Regions from separate parts of the Homo sapiens genome. Here all the other regions are linked to region 3. Evidence: promoter capture Hi-C in human tissues and cell types (Jung and others, 2019). All regions are on one chromosome and are shown on one strand. The core of a region is centred on a gene start or on the middle of the fragment in contact, and the rest is flanking DNA. Distances in the headings are between cores, read along the strand shown.

Evidence for each region. The method cuts DNA at HindIII sites, captures the fragments that hold promoters and counts their contacts. A contact is called where the count stands out against the background at its distance.
Region 1: a contact is called between a fragment that was not itself captured here and the fragment with the promoter of GGT7 in region 3, in 2 of the 25 tissues and cell types used here (aorta and pancreas).
Region 2: a contact is called between a fragment that was not itself captured here and the fragment with the promoter of GGT7 in region 3, in 1 of the 25 tissues and cell types used here (dorsolateral prefrontal cortex).

Annotation. Positions count from the first base shown.
Region 1 is chr20:35,199,928-35,203,751 of GRCh38, reverse strand. All of the region lies in intron 4 of MMP24-AS1-EDEM2 (MMP24-AS1-EDEM2 readthrough), which reads left to right. It also overlaps a transcript of PROCR not described here. Among named protein-coding and RNA genes, the nearest start is that of MMP24, 25 kb to the left of the region's middle. The HindIII fragment of the contact is 5,449 bases long and covers 1-3,824 here.
Region 2 is chr20:35,179,781-35,183,864 of GRCh38, reverse strand. All of the region lies in intron 4 of MMP24-AS1-EDEM2 (MMP24-AS1-EDEM2 readthrough), which reads left to right. It also overlaps a transcript of PROCR not described here. Among named protein-coding and RNA genes, the nearest start is that of PROCR, 9.8 kb to the right of the region's middle. The HindIII fragment of the contact is 9,419 bases long and covers 1-4,084 here.
Region 3 is chr20:34,870,692-34,874,751 of GRCh38, reverse strand. It overlaps GGT7 (gamma-glutamyltransferase 7), which reads left to right and starts at 1,896. Exons shown (of 15, transcript NM_178026.3): 1 at 1,896-2,105. The coding sequence starts at 1,937. RefSeq lists a silencer at 1,725-2,014. The HindIII fragment of the contact is 17,400 bases long and covers 1-4,060 here.

The DNA.
Region 1 (3,824 bases), core at 1,300-3,799, 330 kb before region 3:
TTGATGTTCAGTCAGTTCAAATATTTTCTGATTTACTTTAAGATTTTTTCTCTGACCCATGGATTATTTAGAAGTATATTAACAATTTCTAAATATTTGAGAGTTCTCTTTTTTTTCTTTTTTTTCTTTTTTTTTGAGACAGAGTCTTGTTCTGTTACCCAGGCTGGAGTGCAGTGGTGCGATCTCAGCTCACTGCAACCTCCACCTCCTGGATTCAAGCAATTCTCCTGCCTCAGCCTCCTGAATAGCTGAGATTACAGGCGCGCACTATCACGCCCAAGAGTTCGTCTAAAAAGAAAAACAATAATAAATAAAAGTTATGTTTATACTATATTATAGTCTAATAAATGTGCAATAACATTATGTCTAATAACATTAGACATTGCATACAATGTTATGCAATGACATTTTGTATTTTTAGTAGAGACAGGGTTTTGCCATGTTGGTCAGGCTGGGGGAGTTTTCTATTATTGATTTCTTATTTAATTTTGGTATAGCCAGAGAACACCATTTATGTGGATGATCTCGGCTCACCACAACCTCTGCCTCCTGGGTTCAAGCGGTTCTCCTGCCTCAGCCTCCCGAGTAGCTGGGATTACAGGCATGTGCCACCATGCACGGCTAGTTTTGTATTTTTAGTGGAGATGGGGTTTCACCATGTTGGTCAGGCTGGTCTTGAACTCCCGACCTGAGGTGATCCACTGCCTCAGCCTCCTAAAGTGCTGGGATTACAAGTGTGAGCCACCACGCCCGGCCTTGTGTGGTTTTAATTTATTAAAAATTGTTAAAGTTTACTTTATGACCCAGAATATGATCTATCTGGGTATATGTTCTGTGGGCACTTGGAAAGAATATGTATTCTGTTGCTCTTGAGTAGAGTGTTTTATAAATGTCCGTTATATTAAACCAGTTGATAATGTTATCCAGGTTTTATATATCCTTTTTGATTTCCATCTATTTGTTTATCAGTTATTGAGAACAGAGTTATTGAAGTCTCCCAGTTATGACTGTGGATTTTTCCATGTCTCTTTTAGTTCTATCAATTTTTGCTTCATTTATTTTGGATCTTTGTTAGTTGCATACTATATTTCAGTGTTTATCTTCTTGGTGAATTGACCCTTTTATCATTATGTAACTTCCCTATATTTATATCTTTATATTTAAAATAGATTTCCTTAAACCATAAGACATTTGAGAAGTAAAAATAAAATAAAATAGCTTTCTTGCTGATAGCATATAGTCGGGTCTTGTTTTTTTCTTTTTCCAATCCGATAATCTTTGTCTTTTTTTTTTTTTTGGAAATGGAATCTTGCTCTACCACCTGGACTGGAATGCAATGACGTGATCTCAGCTCACTGCAGCCTCCACCTCCCAGGTTCAAGCAATTCTCCTGCCTCAGCCTCCCGAGTAGCTGGGATTATAGGCACCCGCCACGATGCCCAGCTAATTTTTGTATTGTTAGTAGAGACGGGGTTTCACCATGTTGGTTAGGCTGGGGGAGTTTTCTATTATTTATTTCTTGTTTAATTTTGGTATAGCCAGAGAACATGCTTTATGTGGTTTTATTAAAAATTGTTAGTTTATTTTATGACCCAGAATATGATCTATCTGGGTATATGTTCTGTGGGCACTTGGAAAGAATATGTATTCTGTTGTTCTTGGGTAGAGTGTTTTTTGTAAATGTCCATTATATTAAACCAGTTGATAACGTTATCCAGGTTTGATATATCCTTTTTGATTTCCATCTATTTGTTTATCAGTCATTGAGAATGGACTTATTGAGTCTCCCAGTTATGACTGTGGATTTTTCCATATCTCTTTTAGTTCTATCAATTTTTGCTTCATTTATTTTGGATCTTTGTTAGTTGCATATTATATTTCAGTGTTTATCTTCTTGGTGAATTGACCCTTTTATCATTATGTAATTTCCCTATATTTATATCTTTATATTTAAAATAGGTTTCCTTAACATTTGAGAAGTAAAAATAAAATAAAATGTAATAGCATATAGTTGGGTCTTGTTTTTTTCTTTTTCCAATCTGATGATCTTTGTCTTTTTTTTTTGAAATGGAATCTTGCTCTGCCGCCCAGGCTGGAATGCAATGGCATGATCTCAGTGCACTGCAACCTCCGCCTCCCAGGTTCAAGCGATTCTCATGCCTCAGCCTCCCGAGTAGCTGGGATTACAGGCATGCACCACCTTGCCCGGCTAATTTTTGTATTTTTAGTAGAGGTGGGGTTTCACCATGTTGGCCAGGCTGGTCTTGAACTCCTGACCTCAGGTGATCAGCCCACCTCGGCCTCCCAAAGTGCTGGGATTGCAGGCGTGAGCCACCGCACCCAGCCATCTTTGTCTTTTAATTGGTGTGTTTAGACCATTTACATTTTTAAAGACCATTTACATTTAATGTAGTTATTGATAAGAGTGGATTTTGGTCTACAATTTGTTATTTTTCTGCTTGTCTCCTCCATTTTTTTGCCTCTCAATGTCCCCTTTCCTGTTATATTTTGGATTATTTGAATATGTTTTATATTCCAATTTAATATATTGGTTGTCTATATCTTTTGTGGTTTTTTTTTTTTAGCTGTTGATCTAGGGATAATAATACACATACCTAATTTTAACAGTCAACTTAAAATCAATGTTTTAACACTTCAAGTAAAACACTGACATCTCACAACTACAGGCATACCTTGGAAATATTGCAGGTTCAGTTCTAGACCACTTCAGTAAAGTGAATATTGCAACAAAGTGAATCACACAAGGTTTTTGGTTTCCCAGTGCATATATAAGTTATGTTTAAGGCCGGGTGCAGTGGCTCACACCTGTAATCTTAGCAATTTGTGAGGCCGAGGCAGGTGGATCACCTGAGGTTGGGAGTTCGAGACCAACTTGGCCAACATGGTGAAACCCCGTCTCTACTAAAAATACAAAAATTAGCCGGGCATGGTGGCAACATGCCTGTAATCCCTGCTACCAAAGTGGCTTAGGCAGGAGAATCGCTGGAACCCAGGAGGTGCATATTGCAGTGAGCCAAGATTGCTACTGCACTCCAGCTTGGGCGACAGAGCAAAGAGTTCGTCTAAAAAGAAAAACAATAATAAATAAAAGTTGTGTTTATACTATATTATAGTCTAATAAATGTGCAATAACATTATGTCTAATTACATTAGACATTGCATACAGTGTTATGCAATGACATTTTGTCTAAAATGTAAATACCTTAGTTAAAAAGTACTTTGTTGCTTAAAAATCTGAACAATCATCAGAGCCTTCGGTGAGTCATAGTCTTTTCTCTGGTGGAGGTTCTTGCCTCAGTGTTCATGATTACTGACTAATAAGGGTGGTGGTTGCTGAAGATTGGAGTGGCTGTGGCAATTTCTTAAAATAAGACAACAATAAAGTTTGCATATCAATTGACTCTTCCTTCCACAAAATATTTCTCTGTAGCATGTGATGGTGTTTGATAGCATTTTACCCACAGTAGAACTTCTTTCAAAATTGGAGTCAATCCTCTCAATTCTGGCTGCTTCTTTATCAACTAAGTTTATGTAATATTCTAAATCCTTTGTTGTCATTTCAACAGTGTTTACAGTATCTTCAACAGGAGTAGATTCTATCTTGACAAACCACTTTCTTTGTTTATCCAGAAGAAGCAACTCCTCATTAATTAAAGTCTTATCATGAGATTACAGAATTCAGCCACATTTGCAGGCTTCACTTTTAATTCTAGTTATCTTGCTATTTCCACTACATCAGCAGTTCCTTCCTCCACTGAAGACTTGAACCTCTCAAAGTCATTCATGAGGGTTGGAATCAACTT
Region 2 (4,084 bases), core at 577-3,076, 310 kb before region 3:
GTTGGGCATCTTTTCATGTGCTTATTGGCCACTGGTGTATCTTCTTTAAGAAATGTCTAAAATTTACTCTGCTTTTTCCTATTTTCATTATTGAATCTGTTCTGTCTATCTTTCCTATCTGGGCATGGTCATATCTCACCAATTCACAAATACCATGTTTCTCCCCTAGATTCCTCTGATTCCTGCAGTTTTAGTAGAGGAGAGAAAGCATAAATCCTAGAACACAAAGGCACGGGTTTGAATCCTAGCTCTGATACTATATTAGTCAATTCTTGTGCTGCTATACTGGAATACCTGCAAGTGGCTAATTTATAAAAGAAAAGAGGTTTATTTTTGACTCACACTTCTGCAGGATGTACAGGAAGCATGGCACCAGCATCTTCTTCTGGTGAGGCCTCAGGAAGCTTTCAATCATGTTGGAAGGCAAAGGGGGAGCAGGCATATAAGATGAGACAGAAGGAAGCAAGAAAGAGGAGGGGAGGTCTCAGATCCTTTTAAACAACGAGATCTCATGTGTAATCTAACTGAACAAGAACTCACTCAACACTAAAGGATGGTGTTAAGCCATTCATGAGGGATCTGCCCCCATGACCCAAACACCTCCCATTATGCCCATCTCTAACAATGGAGGTCACGTTCCAACATGAGATTTGGAGGGACAAAACATCCAAACCATATCAGTTATTAACTTTCTTATTCTCCCTAAACATGTCTCCTAATCTAAAATGATTATATCTATCTTACAAGACCAAAGAGAGTATTAAATGATAAACGCAAGTTACAGAATTCCAAAAACTATATAGCAATATGTAAATGATAGCTACAAGAGTAAATCAGAGCATAACATTTTTCTTTCTTTCTTTCCTTTTTTTTTTTTTTTTTTTTTTTTTTGAGACGGAGTCTCGCTCTGTCGCCCAGGCTGGAGTGCAGTGGCACGATCTCAACTCACTGCAACATCTGCCTCCTGGGTGCAAGCTACTCTCCTTCCTTAGCCTCCTGAGTAGCTGGAACTACAGGCACGTGCCACCATGCCTGGCTAATTTTTGTATATTTAGTAGAGACGGTTTCACCATGTTGGCCAGGCTGGTCTCGAACACCTGACCTCAGGTGAACTGCCCACCTCAGCCTCCCAAAGTGCTGGGATTACAGGCGTGAGCCACCATGCCCGGCCACATAACATCACATTTTTATTTGTGTGTTTCTTCTAGTTATACAATGCATCTTGCCTTGTGTTGTTCTCTTTTGTATGTTTTATCTTCCCAAGAAAAGACTGGGCTCCTTGAGAAGGATCATATCCTAATCGTTTTGTGTCTTCCAAAGTACATAACATAAAGCCTTCTATATGGAAGTTTCTGACAAACATTTATTAAACGAGTAAATAAATTAATGATGTGAGATATAGTGAACATTTATGGGTTTTTGTTGTTTTTGCTTTTCTATTTTATTTTTCTTTTGTTCTGTTTTTTGAGCCCAGGAGGTTGAAGCTGCAGTGAGCCATGATCGTGCCACCAATTCCAGCCTGGGCAACAGACCAAGAGTCTGTCTCAAAAAAAAGATAATATATGTAGAGTTAGTAAATACAGCAGTGGCTACTGATCTCCAGGCTTCTCATTTGCATCAATTCTTTAAAATCACCTGTACCTGTTTTGGTTGCCCAGCATCTGAAATCTCTTCCTCTGTGTGAGTCTTAATGGGAGACAGGTTCTCACCTCCCACAAGAGAAGTCAAAGGTATCTAAAGTTTTCCTTTTCCCCCCTGCACTTGCAGCTAAGGCAAAAGCAACATGATCAAGGCTTGGTCATTTGGCTGCTTCCACTCAGGATATTGACTCTTGAACAAATGATGTAAAGACACAGGGTCAGAGGAGAATTCCTTTAATATGGCAGCAGCATTGGTGATGGAGGTAGTGCTTCCAGCTGTGGCATCCTTAATACCATTCCTGTGGTGTGACTTTGGCTGTGGTCCCTGGTTCTACTTTCTGAGCTTGATTATCTGGCTTTCCCATCAACTCTGAGGATTACTTAATAACCTTCCAATATACTTATTTTCCCCTTAAGTTGGCAGAATTGGTTTCTGTTGCTTGCAACTAATAATCTTAGCATACCTCTGGAGTAAGGATTTGGGGAGAATGAGAAAGCAGGAGGCGTTCCGTTTTTCCTTTATGAAATTTCTTTGTAAACTTCTCTGTTATTGCTGTTGTTGTACCACTTCCGTCATTTAAAAATATGCTTTTAAAATAAATAATCTAAGGCACAGTGGCTAAAGAGAAATGGTAGAAAATAAAATTTGAGGGGCCGGGCACAGTGGCTCACGCCGGCAATCCCAGCACTTTGGGAGGCCAAGGAGAGCAGATCATGAGGTCAGGAGTTCAAGACCAGCCTGACCAACATGGTGAAACCCCGTCACTACTAAAAATACAAAAATTAGCCGGGCGTGGTGGCACATGCCTGCAATCCCAGCTACTTGGGAGGCTGAGGTAGGAGAATAGCTTGAACCCAGGAGGTGGAGGTTGCAGTGAGCAGAGATCGCACCACTTTACTCCAGCCTGGGTGACAGAGTGAGACTCCATCTCAAAATAAAATAAAATAAAATTAAATTAAAATTAAATTAGAAAATTAGGTTGGGGCCACATTGTGCAAGGCCTTGAATGTCATTTTGAGGATTCTGAATTTAACTCAATGAGAAATTTAAAAAACAGTCCAGGCGTGGTGGCTCACGCCTGTAATCCCAGCACTTTGTGAGGCCAAGGCGGGTAGATCACTTGAGGTCAGGAGCTCAAGACCAGCCTGACCAACATGGTGAAACCCCGACTCTACTAAAAATACAAAAAATTAGCCGGGCGTGGTGGCACATGCCTGTAATCCCAGCTACTCGGGAGGTTGAGGCAGGAGAATTGCTTGAACCTGTGAGGCAGAGGTTGCAGTGAGCTAAGTTCACACTACTGCACTCCAGCCTGGGTGACAGAGAGAGACTCTGTCTCAAAACAAAACAAAACAAAACAAAAAACAAAAAACAAACAACAACAAAAAACGGAATAATGACACAATTAGATCTGTGTTTCTTACTGCCATGTAGAAGATGAATTAAAATATGGAGAAATTAGAGGCAATTTCTTAGGAGGAGGCTGCTGCCATGGTCCAGACAAGATTGAGAAAATTTCTCAATTTTGAAAGAGAGAGAGACACACACACACAAGTTGGGTTATCTGGAAGCAGAGGCTGAGACAGAGTTTGAGGTGCAAGATGCTTACCAGGGGGAAGAAGTAGGGCTGAGCTAAGAGAGAAGTCAAACGGCAATGCAGATCTGACAAAGACCCAGCCTCCCTGGCAGGGAGCTCTGGAGTGAATATTTCCAGCCCTGGCTAGCCCTTGTCAATCCAACCTATTCTCAGAGTTGTCCTGCAGTTGGCCAAAATGACCGAACTTTTATACCCCTGCCTTGCTTAGGCACCGAGTGAGGGCAGCCCTGGGATGGGCATGATCTTGTGCAGGACTGTCCTCTACAGCTGAGGCAGACATTGAAAGAACTGAAGCAAGCGGAAGCTATCTGCTGGCTATTCCCCCTATAGCTGAACGGCAAGTCTTTTTTTTCTTATTTATGTATTTATTTATTTATTTGAGATGGAATTTTGCTCTTGTTGCCCAGGCTGGAGTGCAGTGGCGAGATCTCAGCTCATTGCAACCTCTGCCTCTTGGGTTCAAGAGATTCTCCTGCCTCAGCCCCTGCTAGTAGCTGGGATTACAAGCGTGCATCACCGCGCCCGGCTAATTTTTGTATTTTTAGTAGAGACAGGGTTTCGCCATGTTGGCCAGGCTGGTCTCCAACTCCTGACCTCAGGTGATCCCCCCACCTCGGCCTCCCAAAGTGCTGCGATTACAAGCGTGAACCATCATGCCCGGCCAACAGGAAGTCTTTCTTTGGAGGTAGAACTGGATGGTACACCTTCATGTTTACCACAAAGAAAGAGAGGAATTATGATATCTTGAACAAAAGCAATGGGGTAGAAAGGAGTGAATGTGTTTTATAGATACTGTAGTTGGTAGATGGGGATAAATAAGAGGGAGTAAATAAAGGTTAACACTGA
Region 3 (4,060 bases), core at 647-3,146:
AGGGACACACACTTCACTGACAGTACATGGACTCCACTAAGGGAGCACAGATGTTGCTGGGGGTTCTCAGATCTGACTGAAGGGCCCTGGGCCCTGCTAATAGGACATGAATGGCTTTGAAGGGCACTTACCCTAGTGAGGAGACATGGATTTCCCCTAAGAGATACAGAGGATATAGACTTTACTAAGGAGACGTGGACCCTACCAGAGGACTCAAACTCCAGTGAGGAGCTGCCAACTACACTGTGGGAGTGGACATCACTGAGAAGGTGCAGACCTCATCAAGTGGGGAAGGGTCCCACCAGAGGGATTAGACCTCAGGGTAGTGTAATAGACCCTACAAACATCACTGAGGAGATAAGAACTCTCTGGGGTGGGGAAAGGCACAGACAATGGGTACACTTTTTGGTGATAGACTGTTACCCTCCCTGGGCACTCTTACCACACAGCTCTGAGTAGCCCTCTCCTTCCTATCCTCTCTCCCAAGTCCTACACCCAAACCCCAGAGCTGTTCCCGACACACTGCTTCCCCCTCCTGTCTATAGTTGCTACTGCAGCTGCTGTGTATATAGTAGATTTTTCAAGCACTTCAGGCCATCCCTGAGACTGGTCTGGGGTTGGGAAGAGAAAGGATGTGTGTATAGAGGCTTCACCAGCCCCCCTCTCTTCCTGTGGACTTCACAATGAAAGTTTGGAACAGAGACCTCGTAAAAGAAGGAACCTCCCTCATCCTTGGATATGGAGAAGTAGTACAAGCTGTAGTGTGGTTGGAATTTTGGAGTGGAGAGAGGATGGATGAGTTTGGAGGGAATGAATCTACCAGATTAAGGCAATGATGATGATGATGATGATGCCATTTATTGAGTAGGTGCCAAGCCCTATACTAATCGCTTTCCATTCTGTTACTTAATCCTCATGACAACCCTCTAAAATGGGTACTATTATTCTTTCCATTTCACAGATGGGGAAACTGATAGAGAGACTAATTGTCTTGCCCAAGATTACACAGTGTTTGAGCGGTGGCAGAATAGAACCCAGACATCCAGAATATGGAGACCTATTCCCCACCTTGCCCCACTCCTGCCCTACCATCACTACCACCACTCCTTCTTTCTCAAAGTGTCCTTTCCAGAACCACATCAAAAACTCTTAAAATGATGGTAAATATTCAGGTTCCAAGGACCTCATCCCAGCCTACTGAATCATGATCTCTGGAGTGGAATCTGGGGATCCGCTTTCAAAGATCCTAACACACACTAAAGTTTGAGAATGCGGTTGAAAGAGGAGTCAGAAGTGTCGGGGTGCGGGAAGGGATCTGAGGTCAGAGGAGGGATCTGTTGTCCAAAGAGGCGTCTGCAGTCAAAGAGGCCTGGAGATGAAGCATGGGCTGGGGTTTTCAAAAGGGTTTGGGGGTGAAGACAGAGTCTGAAGTCGAAAAAGAGGTCTAAGGTCGGAGGAGGAGTCTAAAATCGGAGGAGGAGGATCTCGGAATTCAAGGAGGGGTCTGGGGTCCGAGGAGTTTGGGGTCAGAGACAGGATCTGGGGTCGAGAGGGATTTGCGGTCAGTGAAAGGGTCTGGGGCCCGAAAAGGAAGCCTGGGATTTGAGGAGGACACTAGCTGTATTCAGGCTGGAAGGAGGAAGGGGTTTGGTCCCTGAGCTGCGTAAAGTGCAGAGCCACTGAAGTCTCGCTTGCCCCGCGCTCTCCCCTCGACCCTGCGCTGCCTTCCTGGCTGTCCATCTACACGCACCTGTGTGCCAGCTGCAGGCTGATAGCGCTGAGCAGACGGGGGCGAGTCAGACCGGGACACGGCCGAGGGCTGGGAGAGGCGCCCCCTCCCGGCTGTCGCGAAGATCAGGCCCCGCCCTCCGCCCTCCCACTCCCCCGCCGCAGCCACTTCCGGCAGGCGCTGCGCTGCTGGGGGGCGCGGGCGAGGATGGCGGCGGAGAACGAGGCCAGCCAGGAGAGCGCCCTGGGCGCCTACTCGCCAGTGGACTACATGAGCATCACCAGCTTCCCGCGGCTGCCCGAGGACGAGCCGGCGCCCGCGGCCCCGCTGAGGGGCCGCAAGGACGAGGACGCCTTTCTGGGAGACCCCGACACCGGTGAGGCCCGCTGACCCCGTCCCTGCCCTGCCTTGGGAAGTCCCCGGTCTTCCTTCTTCTGTGTCAAGCATCCACCTCCAGCTCCATCTCCTTAATTCATCCCCATCTTCTTGGATCTCTCCCTTCTTCTCCCTTGTCTCTGTTAATTATTTGGTGAGGAAGGGGGTGCATTTCTGCCTTGGAGGCGTAGGATGCGACAACGGAGAGGATGCTAGGGACTGCAGTAGAAGGGATTGGGCTTACCTTCTGGGAAGAACCAACTAACGATGAAGGAATGTTGAAGGGGAGATCCTAAGGAACCGCTGTGATCACCCAGAAGAGGGCTTTCTCTAGCCACAGAGGACAGGATAGGAGAAACCAAGTCAGAGACTGCAGCAAGAGGGATCCAATCTGTGCCTTAAGAGAAGTTCCCCACAGCCAGGGATTGTGAGAAGCAGAGGGTCTGGGAGAAGCGGAGAATCTCTTCATGTCTAGGGAGGGGTAAAGAGAATATGATTCCCCTCTGTTGGGTGTTGGGAGACGGAGGCATGGACTGCATGACCTCTCAAAAGTCCTTGGGGACTAGAACGCCTTCACTCTCCTGTGGATTACCCCACCCCTCCCTGAGCCATGGATCTGGCCGGGGTATTAGTAAGGTACTCTGCTCCCTAGGAAGCAGTCTCCAGAATTTTACTGTGTTCCCCTCAGCCCTCTGCTGGAATTGTGAGAAGTGGGGGTAAGAGAAGGAGGAGACAGGGATTGGAAGAGACCTGGGGGCAAAGAGCTCTCTGTGCATTCCTTCCCTGCTGCTCTTCCTCCTAGCCATGTGGCCCAGCTTCATCCTCCCCTCCATTCTTCATCCTTCATCCCCCATCCCTCTGTCCCTGCACGTCACTTCCTGGCATTAGAGCATCCTTCTACCTCACTCTCGCTTCCTCGCAGTGCCTGCACTTGAGCCTTGTCTCTTACCAGCCTGGCAGATGCTGCTTTTCCGGCTTGGCCCTTCCCTAGCTGCTCCCAGCCTGAAAGCCCCAAATTCTCTCCTCCTCTACACTTTCTGGTCATCTGGCCCTGACCAGCAGCCCTTGCCAACCTGACTGGACTGCACTCTGTATGGGGTGGGGGTGAGGAGATAATGAAGATGGAGTTTAGAGGTTTATGGGCGTCAAATGTCAGGGCTGCGGATCAAAACTTATTTTCCAAAGGGAGTGGAATCAGGAGGTAGCAGGGAGAGGAGTGGGAAGATGTGTCATGATGGATATCAGCCTGAAGCTAGGCCTTTTATTCAGTAGTCAGGAGTGAGACTTCTGGTCCTAATACAGCCCTGACTCACCAAGCGACAACAGGCACACCTACCCTGTCCTGGGCCTTAGTTTCCTCTTCCAGCTCAACAGAGAATGCCTGTCTCTCTTGACCTAGAGATTGGAACTGCCTGACATGTTTTCTTCTGGCCCTCTGTAAATGTCTTAGCATTTACCAAAATCTATGATTATTTATTTGTGCAATTATCTGATTACTCCCTGTCTGTAAGCCCCATGAGGGCAGGGATCATGATTGTTTTGTTCACTCTCCTTTCTCCAGCATCAAGACCTTATCCATAGGCCGGGCGCGGTGGCTCATGCCTGAGGTGGGTGGATCACTTGAGGTCAGGAGTTCAAGACCTGCCTGGCCAACATGGTGAAACCCCATCTCTACTAAAAATACAAAAATTAGCTGGGCATGGTGGTGGGTGCCTGTAATCCTAGCTACTCGGGAGGCTGAGGCAGGAGAATCACTCGAACTGGGGAGGCAGAGGTTACAGTGAGCCGAGATCACTCCACTGCACTCCAGCCTGGGTGACAGAGTGAGACTCAGTCTCAAAAAGAAACAAAAAACAAAAAACAAAACAAAATACACTGGCCGGTGTGGTGGCTCACACCTGTAATCCCAGCACTTTGGGATGCTGAGGCGGGTGGATCACCTGAGGTCAGGAGTTC